Regions from separate parts of the Homo sapiens genome. Here all the other regions are linked to region 3. The links are contacts of gene promoters, found by promoter capture Hi-C in blood cells and fetal thymus (Javierre and others, 2016). All regions are on one chromosome and are shown on one strand. Each heading gives the region's core, a stretch centred on a gene start or on the middle of the fragment in contact. The rest is flanking DNA. Distances are from core to core; before and after follow the strand shown.

Region 1 (2,700 bases), core at 61-2,560, 530 kb after region 3:
CTGGATTTGGGGCCCACACTAATCCAGCGTGATCGCATCTCAATCCTCACCTTCATTACCTCTGCAAAGATCCTATCTCCAAATAAGGTCCCATGCTCAGGTTCCAGGTGGGCATAAACTTTGGGGGTCTCTATTCAATCCACTACATTCCCCAACCTCAGAGTGAGCCAAGCTTAATTCCCCAGACTCCCTATTACCTGGCACAGCCATGGTCCCTGCCCAAGCCTGCTTCCAGACCCCCACCCCTCTGCCCCTGCATGTCCCAGGTCCCGTGGCCCTGCGCCTGGGCTCCCCAGTGCCATGCGTGCATGCCTATGTGCATGTGCACAGATTCCCCCTTCACTTGGCGGTGAGAAAGGGGGATTCTAGGCTTCAGCAGGAGCCTACAGGGGCCTCTCTGCTCGGAAATGCTTCTTCCTCTCCCCCTGGCAGCTGTTTGGCTTGGCGGGGGCCCATCTGGCAGGCTCAGCAGCCAAGGAGCCCTAGGGGGCAGTGGGAGGGAATGGTGAGGGGCAGGCAGCTCCGTAGTCCTCAGGCCCAGGCCCTGGGAGCTGGGCCAATGGCGGGCCTCCCTGCTGGCTGGCTCCAGCCCCTTCGCTCTTGGTTCTCCTCCTCCCTGGTCTCCCGTCCTCCCCATCCTGTAAAGGGGAATTCTGGAGACCCTCCACCACCCTGCACTAGCCAAGGAGAAGACGTGCAGAAGAGGAGCAGCAACTGGCAAAGCAAGAAACACACCCAGGGAAAGGGCAGTCAGTGGCTCCTGAGGATCCGCTCATGGGGGCTCTGGATACTCTTTGAGGGCACCCTAGGACAACCTGGACTTCTCCCAACCTCTGATATTCTGTCCTCTGCTCCTTCCATGTTCCTGAAATTTCCTGTCCCTGGTGTCCCCTCCAGGGCACTTGCCTTCTTCCAGGGCCCCTCTGAACCCCCAAGCTGTTGCCTACTTTTCTGGGTCAGGCCTCTCTTCAGTAAGCAGGACAGAAAATGATGCCCTCAGCCCCTAGCAGGTCCTACAACCTCTTTCTACTGATGGGAAAATGTAAAACACATGCGCACACACGCACACACACACACACACACACACAGGGAGGGGCACAGGATAATGAGCCTGGGCTTTAGGGTTCATTTGGCCTGGGTTCAAGTTGCAACCCTGCACTTGACACCTGTGTGATCCTGGACAGGTAACTTAGCCTCTCTGAGCCTTGATATAGCCTCATAAAAGTAAGACTACTCATAGCTAACTTCCAGGGTTGCAAGGATAAAATTGCATAGCCTCTGAAATAAGGTAGGTATTCTCTAAATGACAACAACTTCCTATGTGCCAGGCACTGCATTAAGCACTTTGCATAGATTATCTCATTTAATACTAATAATAACTTTATGAAATAGAAACTATTTCATGGCTAAGGAAGCTGAGCAGTTTGCTTTGGGTCCCAGAACTGGTTGAGAGATTGAGCTGAGATTTGATTCTAAGCGCTGTGAATCCAAACCCTGCACTCGAAACTACCATGCTCTGTTGCCTATGCTACTGGCAGTGTAGACATGGTAGATGGTGTTAGTATTAATACCACAGAGAGCAGCTGGGCTGCAGGGGTTTTCCCGGGGCCCCTGCAGGTGCAGCTTGGAGGTCAACCTTACCCTGCACACAGATTTGCATGCAGCTTGAAAGTCGGGATCTGCCTGGCTGCCTTAGTAATTCTGGAGTCCTGGACACGAGGGCCAACCCATCCCAGTCACAGGAGACCACTGAAACTGAAGCTCCCAAGGCTCTCGTGCCTTGGCACATCTGGAAGCTATTAGCCTCCTTTCTACCACCTACCCCCTCAACCCCGCCCCCCAGCCAGCTGTTCACAGTGGCTAATTCTGGGAAGTGCCCCTCAGCCAGTGGCTGCCTGCAGGGGAGCGGGGAGGGGGGTTCCTCACCAACACATCCATGGGGTGGAGGGGAGGTGGGCAGGCAGCAGAGGGTTAATCTGAGTAACTACAGCTGCTGGTCTCCTCCCCCAACCCACAGATAGATAGCCAGTGGGGTTACTCCTGGTTGAGTAATGAGGAGGGAAGAGAGCGGGAGGAGGCAGGGGTGAGTGTGGAGGGAGACCAAGGAGCAGAGACTGAGAAAATGTTTCTGCTGGCAAAGATCTTTAAAAGGTCATCTGATATTGTCCATCCCCCTGTTTCCTGGGGGTCACGGTGACCTCATGGTGTAGTGGAAAGAGGGCAGTCTTTGTAGTTGAGCAAAGCTGGGTCACAATCCTGACTCCGTCGCTGTCAGTCTGTACAACCTTGAGCAAGGTCCTTACCCTCTCCAGGCCTAAGCAGCCTCATTTGTGCAATGGGAGAACAGCACCCCTCTGGCAAGGCTGCCAAGAGAGTTCTGGGAGATACAGTCTGGTCCATGCCCAAAAACATTCGCTCCCTCATCTCTAAGAGCGGCAAGAAGCTTCGAGAGAGGTCTTCCCTTGGTTCCACTACCTGCCTCACTTTCTGGGATCTCACCGTCTAGATCCTGAATCCAGCACACCCATCTTACTGTGAGGCCTGCCGTCAAAGCCATGCCCTGCCTAGAGACTTGACTTGCCCTCCTCTCTGCCCAGCGCTGCCCTCCTCACTTTCTAAACTTGCTGAAGACCCCCACCGCCGGCACTGACAGCTCCCACTGGCTCCAATTGTCCCAAACCTCCCTCCACCCCGTAGTAC
Region 2 (2,700 bases), core at 133-2,632, 600 kb after region 3:
CGCGGTGGGTGATCCCAGCACTTTGGGAGGCTGAGGCGGACGGATCACGAGGTCAGGAGATCGAGACCATCCTAGCTAACACGGTGAAACCCCGTCTCTACTAAAAATACAAAAAAAAATTAACCGGGCATGGTGGCGGGCGCCTGTAGTCCCAGCCACTCGGGAGGCTGAGGGAGGAGAATGGCGTGAACCCAGGAGGCGGAGCTTGCAGTGAGCCGAGATCGAGCCACTGCACTCCAGCCTGGGCGACAGAGCGAGACTCCGTCTAAAATAATAATAATAATAATAATAAATAAATAGCCAGGTGTGGTGGCACGTGCCTGTAATCCCAGCTATTTGGGAGGCTGAGGCAGGAAAATCGCTTGAATCCGGGAGGCGGAGGTTGCAGTGAACCAAGATAGCGACACTGCACTCCAGCCTGGGTGACAGAGCAAGACTCTGCCTCAAAACAAAAATAAATAAATAAATAGCTGGATGGTCCTGTATGGTAGTGACCAGGGAATTTTCCCCAGCTCTCTCCCCATTCCGCATTCGTTCTCTATTTCCAAAAGCGCCTCCAGCTCCAGAGCAGATACCTCTATCAAAGAGCACCACCCTCTCCCTCTGGCGTCTGACTCTTCTCCAAACTGAGCCTTCTCCAAACTGAGCCAGGCCCAGCACTTGGCTGGAACCTGGCTTCTTCTCCAGGTCCGCATTTTCCAGAAACCTTCCCACTGCTTCACCTGCGTTCTTGGCCCTGTCTCTCTTATAAACCCATCCGCATGTAAGTTTCTCTTGGCCTCCTCAGGCGGAGAACAAGCTCTCGCAAGGCCCCGCCCTCCGGGGGACATCGCCCGTCCATTGCCCCGCCCTCTCAGGCTCCGCCCTAGCCTCAGATTCCGAGACATCCCCATCCCCGCCCTTTCCCTCAACCACCTCTTGACCGTCCCCAGGCCCGCCCCCCAGGGTCTCCCCCATTCCACTCATCTCAGATCCCGCCCACACCTCCCTTGGCCCCATGGGCCCCGCCCCTTTCAATTGCTGCGACCCGCCCACCCCGCCCTGCCTCCAGGTAGCCACCCTCTGGGGAGCCCGTCCCGGGGGCCTCCTCACCTATAGAGCGTCTTGCGCGGTGCGAGCTGGTCCTCACTCAGGCCCTGCGCGATGTAGTAATCGGCGACGAGGCCAAGGATGCGGCCCCAGAAGAGAACCCGATCATAGCGGTAGTCGCGCTTAACCAGCATAAGAGACGTGAGCAGCGAGGCCCGACGGTCCGGGCTGAGGCCCTGCCCACTGCCGGACGCCAGCTCCAGAGACAGCAGGAGGCTGTCGGCGTCCATCAGGTCAGCGGCTCCGCTCAACGCCCGTCGAGTTGCTAGGAGAAGCCGCCTCCATGGAGACCTGAAGCTCCGCCCTTCCGCCTAGCTGGACGCTAGGTTCCACCCACCCCACCGCCTACCGCCCAGACCTCCTCCCCACGGAGGCCTAGGCATCAGCCCCCTCCCTCATCCTTTCCAGAGTTTGGGACGGGATGTCTTCAGTTGCCACGGCCACAGTATGGCTTCCCCTACAGTTAGGCTACAGTTGGGGTTGTAAGTCCAAACCCAGCCTTTTTCCATAGATATTTGGCCTTCCCTGAGCCCTTTCACATAGTCGACATTTAGAGTCTTTACTGTATATGGACCTGGGGTCTGGAAAGAAAACAATACAAAACCCCAACACTGACACTAACTGTACTATTTCACCCCAGTCATGTCACTTCTTGACCTCAGAATGATCTGTGAAGAATTTGAGATTCCTCCTGGCTCTAATTAAGATTCTGTCAACCCGACTACCTCCACCCGCACCCCACCCCAAGCCAGGTCTTACAGAATGAGGTCCATCCATTCTCTTCCATCTTCACCAGCTGTCTTCTTTATCTACCCTTTCCATAGAAATATTCTAAGTGACAAATGAAAATCTAGGCAATGGGGGCAAGGTATAGGGTAACACCTTGGGAAAGGAGGGTGAGGAGAGAGATACAAAAAGGGGGACTTTTATAGACTACACTTTCTCATCAACTACCACCTTTCTCATCAACTACCAACTACCACCAACTGTTGTTTTTAGATCCAAATGGTAGCAAGAGATGAAAGGCCAGAACCTCACTGCAACTGGAGCTTCACTCCCTGGGCTAGATCACTTCTCCACATTCACTTCTTGAGTCCCCAGCCAAGGACAAACAAACAGGTTCCTCAGCAAGCTTGTTGCCACAGGAGATGGGCTTTATCGTTAATGTTGCTAGTTGATATTTTCATTTCTGGATTCCTTTGAAGAGCACTCAGGAAATCAGAATGACCTGGGCCCCAGCTGATAAATAAGTGTGTAAATAACCCAGATAATTACTTTTTTGATTGTCTGGGCATTGTTGGTTTTCGGGGGTTGAGACAGGGTCTCACTTTGTCACCCAGGCTGGAGTGTAGTGGTGTGTGATCTCAGCTCACTGCAGCCTCAACCTCCTGGGCTCAAGTGATCTTCCCACCTCAGCCCCCCAGGTAGCTGGGACTACAGGTGTGTGCCACCACACCCAATATTTTTTGTATTTTTAGTAGAGACGGGGTTTTGCCATGTTGGCCAGGCTGGTGTTGAACTCCGAGCTCAAGTGATCCACTCACCTGAGCCTCCCAAAGTGCTGGGATTACAGGTGTGAACCACCACGCCCAGGCTTAGGCATTGTTTAGG
Region 3 (2,700 bases), core at 100-2,599:
GAGGCCTGAAAATTCAGAAGGAAAAAGAAAATAAGCTAAATATTCTTCAACCAAATGTCACAGAACCCACCTACTTAAAGAATGGTGACCAGCAGCCTCAGCATCATCTGGTAGTATGGCAGAAAAATCATAATGTTGGTCCAACCCAGGTATCTAGAGATCCCAAGTAATCCTTACACAAATTTAAATGTGAAAATCACTACCTACAGTTCTTTATTTGGGGGAGATCAAAGTGACTAGTTTAAGATAAAAATGGCACTAACTTTAAACTGCTCCCCCTGAGGTGTCAGTTCCTAAGACCAGTCCAAGGGCGGGACACTCCTGCCCCATAGGGCAGGGAGGAATAACCTGGGATCCATACGATACCCACCGGAGGAGCAATTAAATCCGGACAAAGAATTCTTAAGCCAAAAGCTCCACCACGACCCTTTCACAGCACAAAATTACAGAACAGGACCAAACCCAAGAAAGATGGTGGCCGTAGCCACCAGGCCGACACTCGTCACTGCCGGACATGCGTCGGCCAGGACCACGCGAGGAGGGGGCGCCGCAGTGCACCCTCCCTCGCCCCAGCATCCGGGCACTGGGGCGGGGCGCCAGAATCCAGAAGCTTCCAGAACAATCTCAGCTCTCGAGGAAGGGCGGAGGAAGGAGCCCATGAATCTTCCAGAACCTGCTCCCCTCCCCGCCCCTCCTCCACCGGGACTGCAAGAAAGATCTGGAAGGAGGGAGTATCGGGTGCTGGAGACCGAAAGCTCTCTTCCCACACCGTCAACCCTCCCTCACAGAAACAAAGCACCCAAGAAGGCTTTAACAACGCGTCCGATAAGAGAGGTGACAAAGCCAGTCCCACAAGGCCGTGCTGAGTCACCCGAGCGGGCACCCCCGCCACCCTGCGGTCCCCCTCCGACGCCCCGTAGCCGCGTCCGGAAGTGGAGGGGCAAAAATGGCAGCGTCCCGGGCCGCGCGGCCACCACGTGCAGCTGCCAGCCGCCCACTGCCCCAACCCCACAGCCCACCTCGCTACGGCCAGCAGGCGCCGAGAGAAAGCCCCACCCCCCAAACACACTAGAGAAAACCGAGGAGGACTCAAAAAACCTCACCCACCACTACCCTCACCCTATAAAAATCCAGAGCGTTATCCACAAGCCACCCCGACATCTAGACTAAGGCTCCCTAAAGGACAGAAAAAAACAAAAACAACACGAATACAGCACTAAAGGGAAAGAAGCCTAGCGGAGATCTCAGCCTTACCTTGAAAAGAAAAGGATTATACGTAATAGTGAGCAACGTAGGCTTGCTTTCCGATACCCAGACAGTCCCAACACTGCGCCGGAGTGACTCGAGAGAGCTACTGCGTGCCCCAAGTCGCCCTATATAAGGCGAAGCACAGTACAGCCGCCCTCCTGTAGATCCCTCCGCCTTAAAGGAGTATGATTGTCAACCCCGCACCTGCCGCCACCAGCCCACCTTGACGTCATGGTCCGAAAAAAAGAGGGGGCGGGGAAGAACCCAAGCAACGGATCCGCCCACACATTTGCTTGTGATCACAGCCCCATAGTTTCACGTCTAGGACATGACTCCATCAAGAGCGGGGATGAGGAGTGCTCATTTGGCATAAACGGTGTCTCTACGGGCGAGGAACCCACTGACCTCCCTAAACACTTGTGGGGCAGGCGTCCCCACACCCAAGGGCGGGACTGGGGGGGACACCGAAAAAGAGCGGAGGCAGCTAACCACGCGGACCACCGCTCCCAGACCCAATCTTCTTCCTAGCATCTGCCCTACACATCTCGCGTCCCGACAGAGGGACTGGCATTCGGGACCCAACCTTGGGTAGCCCCAGATCCCGACTCTCGCAGGAGTAGAGGAAGGGCGGAGGGTTCGCGCTGAGGGGCAGCTCAGCGTAGGGGGAGGGCGCCGGCCGGGGCTGGCGGGGACTCTTTGCCGACATGCGGCGGAAGGCGCGGCGGCGGCACTGCGGCATTTCCAGCAGTTTCCAGGCCTGTCTCGGCGGTCCCGCCCCCTCCCCGCGAGGCTCCGCCTCTCCGGCTGCGGCCGGGGCAGGGTTTTTGCAGCGACCCCACCCGGCGACCCGCTCTGACCTGTCCGAGAGACGCGGGTACCAGCCCAATCCTCAGGGATGGGATGGAGGGTTGGGGAGGGATCGGCTGACCCCTCCTTCCCCGCGTCAATCACACAACACCCAGGCACCTGGGGCGGCTCTGCGGGCGTACACTTTTGCAGACTGAGAGTGGAGTACCTGCGGGGGGGACCCCCCTCTAGCCCCTGCGGCCGCCACGTACACGGAGCACGGGGACATGCGCCCTCCCTACGCAGGCACGTCAAGCCCTTTCTCAAGCTGGTTCGCTTTTTTTCCGCCCACTTCGCTCCTGCAGCCATTTGGACCTGGGAAGGAGGGAGTCTCTGGGAACCAGTGCAGGGCAGCCGGAGCTCTTGGAGGCCGCGTGACGATGCCGGCCACAGAGCGGCTGGCCAAGTTGTTCCCCTTCAGCCTTGGCACCAGAGCCCCTAGGCCATGCCCCTGGCCAGTGAGCTGCCGTGTCTGGCCTGGCTCAGCCGTTTTGCCTGCCCTCCAGTTGGCAAGCTGTCCTTGCCTTTCCAAGGCCTCATCCGAAAGCCTGCTGGACCCACAACCCCTCCAGGAGAGAATAGCCACTCCCTGCTCTGTGCCCTGTA
Region 4 (2,700 bases), core at 13-2,512, 670 kb after region 3:
CACATAATATTGATCTAGGTTTTGCAACTTTAAACATATAGCTTAGGTTGGAGTTTCTTTTTGAGTAGGGTCTCACTCTGGTTGTCCAGGCTGGCGTGCAGTGGTGAGATCTCGGCTCACTTCAGCCTTGATTTCTCGAGCTCAAGTGATTCTCCTACCACTTCAGCCTCCTGAGTAGCTGGGATTACAGGCACCTGCCACCATGCCCGGCTAATTTAAAAAAATATTTTTAGTGGGCCGGGCACAGTGGCTCACGCCTGTAATCCCAGCACTTTGGGAGGCCAAGGCAGGTGGGTCACCTGAGGTCAGGAGTTCAAGACCAGCCTGGTCAACATGATGAAACCTTGTTTCTACTAAAAATACAAAAATTAGCTGGGTGTGGTGGCGTGCACTTGTAGTCCCAGCTACATGGGCTCAGGAGGCTGAGGCAGGAGAACTGCTTGAACCTGGGAAGCAGAGGTTGCAGTGAGCCGAGATCATGCCATTGCATTCCAGCCTGGGCGACAGAGTGAGACTCCGTCTCAAAAAAAAAAAAAAAAAATATATATATATATATATATTTAATAGAGATGGGGTTTCGCCATGTTGCCTAGGCTAGTCTCAGACTCCTAGACTCAAGTAGTCCACCCATCTCAGCCTCCCAGAGTGCTGGGACAGGTGTGAGCCACCGCACCCGGCCCTGGTTGGAGTTTCTTAAGATGAAATTCTTTTAGTCCCTATTCTCTCAGCCCTCGAAAGGAAACACTAACTTTTCTTCTTTCAGTTTTGTGAGGAGTTTAAAGAAAAGTGTCCTATCTGTGTCCCCTGTGGCTTGAGGTTGGCTGAGAAAACACAAGTTGCCATCGTCAGACATTTTGGCCTTCAGATCCTGGAACACGTTGTCAAGTAAGGAGCTCTTGGACATTACCACTGAAGTCTGAGAGAACAGATCTTTATATCTTATATAACCTATAGAGATGCTGTTTAGGTGAGTAGAGAAGAGCAATCTCCAAGAAGAGAGGAATGATCCCCTAGATGTTATCAGAACCTCACAGGAGCTCTCATTCAAGATTTAACCTTTCTTTTCTTCAGTTTCTTCATCCATGTAAAGTGTGTGGTACATATTACCCATTCAACAAATATTACCTGCCATTTAGCCAATACTTACTGAGCTCTGACTATATGTCATTAGCCCTCGAAGCCTTTTTAGAGTAATGCAATGTATAGGTCAATGAATCTCTGATTAGGCACTGTGGCTTTCTTTTTTCTCTCTGTCTTTCTGAGTTTGTGTGCCTTCTCTGGGTGGTACATCCAAAGCAGGATTGTATGAGAATAACTGAAAACCCATCCTAACTTGATTGTCCTACCCTCAACACCTATCAGAAGAGGTAGCCTTTAAGACTTAGCCATAGTTTTTCCAGAATTGTTTTGTAAGCCAGCACAGAAAATGACTGATGTCAAAACTGCATTTTCTGAAAAGCAAGTACATTGTTGCAGTTGACCTAGATGTATATTCACTTTTGGCCCATCAATAAAATCATGAGGCAAAGCTGACGTGTGGTACAAATCTTGTGCGGATTCCAGTTAATGGACCACTGCATATATAAAACCTTTTCCCAAGAATTTTTGTGTTAGTATTTTGGTTAAATGTAGATCATTTTTGCCCATTCATTGACAGGTACAAAATCAAAAGTATAATTTCTTAATGAAATCTCCAGTGTAATCAAATGTAGAAATCCATGCTATTCTCTTGTAAAGACAAGACTTCTAAAGTGGTTCTATTGACTTTATGCATTTTGGTGGTCAGGTTTCGGTGGAACGGCATGTCTCGATTGGAGAAGGTGTATCTGAAGAACAGTGTCATGGAGCTGATTGCAAATGTAAGGAATGGGTGGTTGGGAGACATGTTTCCAAGGTAGTTTAGGCAAAGCGTGACTTCTTCAATAGGGAGTTTGTGTAAAAATTCACTGCTTCTAAATAGGTCAGACAGCACAAGAAATCATAATTTAGGCCAGGCACAGTGACTCACACCTGTAATTCTAGCGCTTTGGGAAGCCAAGGTAAGAGGATCACCTGCATCTAAGAATTCGAGAGCAGCTTGGGCAATGCAGTGAGACCCCATCTCTACCAAAAATGCAAAAATTAGCTGAGCGTGGTGGCGCATGCCTGTGGCCCAGCTACTCAGGAGGCTGAGGTGGGAGGATTTTCTGAGCCCAGGAGGTCCAGGCTGCAGTGAGCTGTGATGGTGCCATGGCACTCCAGCCTGTGCAACAGAGCAAGACCCTATCTCAAAAACAAAACAAAACAAAAGCAGAAAGCATAATTCAGCATATGTCTCTTACTAGGTTTAATTAATCATGCTTATGTATTGACTTCTATTTTTTAAATTATAAAGACAGGGCAGAGGGGATTAAATATTTTCAACAAATCAATAAGATTCTTAGATCTAAATTAGATTGAAACACTATTTTCTTTTATTCCAAACAACTACTATGTGATACTAATGATGAAAAACATGCAGAATTTTAAGTATGCAGAATGAATTTGTTTCAAGTATTAGAATATGACTTTTTTTTTTTTTTGAGACAGAGTCTCTGTTGCTCCGGCTGGATTGCATTAGCATGATCATAGCTCACTGCAGCCTCGAACTCCTGGGCTCAAGTGATCTTCTCGCCTTAGCCTCCCAAGTAGCTGGGATTATAGGCATGTGGTACCATGCCC

The links. The method cuts DNA at HindIII sites, captures the fragments that hold promoters and counts their contacts. A CHiCAGO score of 5 or more calls a contact.
Region 1: a contact is called between a fragment that was not itself captured here and the fragment with the promoter of HSP90AB1 in region 3, in 1 of 17 cell types (naive B cells). The highest score is 5.2, in naive B cells.
Region 2: the fragment with the promoter of RSPH9 here is called in contact with the fragment with the promoter of HSP90AB1 in region 3 in 2 of 17 cell types (activated CD4 T cells and total B cells); the score reaches 5.6 in activated CD4 T cells.
Region 4: a contact is called between a fragment that was not itself captured here and the fragment with the promoter of HSP90AB1 in region 3, in 1 of 17 cell types (non-activated CD4 T cells). The highest score is 5.8, in non-activated CD4 T cells.

What each region holds. Positions count from the first base shown.
Region 1 is chr6:43,714,007-43,716,706 of GRCh38, reverse strand. No RefSeq gene overlaps it. Among named protein-coding and RNA genes, the nearest start is that of MRPS18A, 28 kb to the right of the region's middle. The HindIII fragment of the contact is 2,271 bases long and covers 175-2,445 here.
Region 2 is chr6:43,643,718-43,646,417 of GRCh38, reverse strand. RSPH9 (radial spoke head component 9) reads right to left here and starts at 1,382. Exons shown (of 5, transcript NM_152732.5): 1 at 1,093-1,382. The coding sequence starts at 1,319. RefSeq lists a silencer at 1,775-1,963. The HindIII fragment of the contact is 7,744 bases long and covers 1-2,223 here.
Region 3 is chr6:44,245,750-44,248,449 of GRCh38, reverse strand. HSP90AB1 (heat shock protein 90 alpha family class B member 1) reads right to left here and starts at 1,349. Exons shown (of 12, transcript NM_007355.4): 1 at 1,255-1,349. RefSeq lists enhancers at 250-299, 784-1,538, 2,293-2,700 and a silencer at 1,850-2,089. The HindIII fragment of the contact is 5,727 bases long and covers 613-2,700 here.
Region 4 is chr6:43,571,665-43,574,364 of GRCh38, reverse strand. XPO5 (exportin 5) reads left to right here. Exons shown (of 32, transcript NM_020750.3): 2 at 764-885; 3 at 1,787-1,859. Among named protein-coding and RNA genes, the nearest start is that of XPO5, 3.0 kb to the left of the region's middle. The HindIII fragment of the contact is 3,844 bases long and covers 1-2,700 here.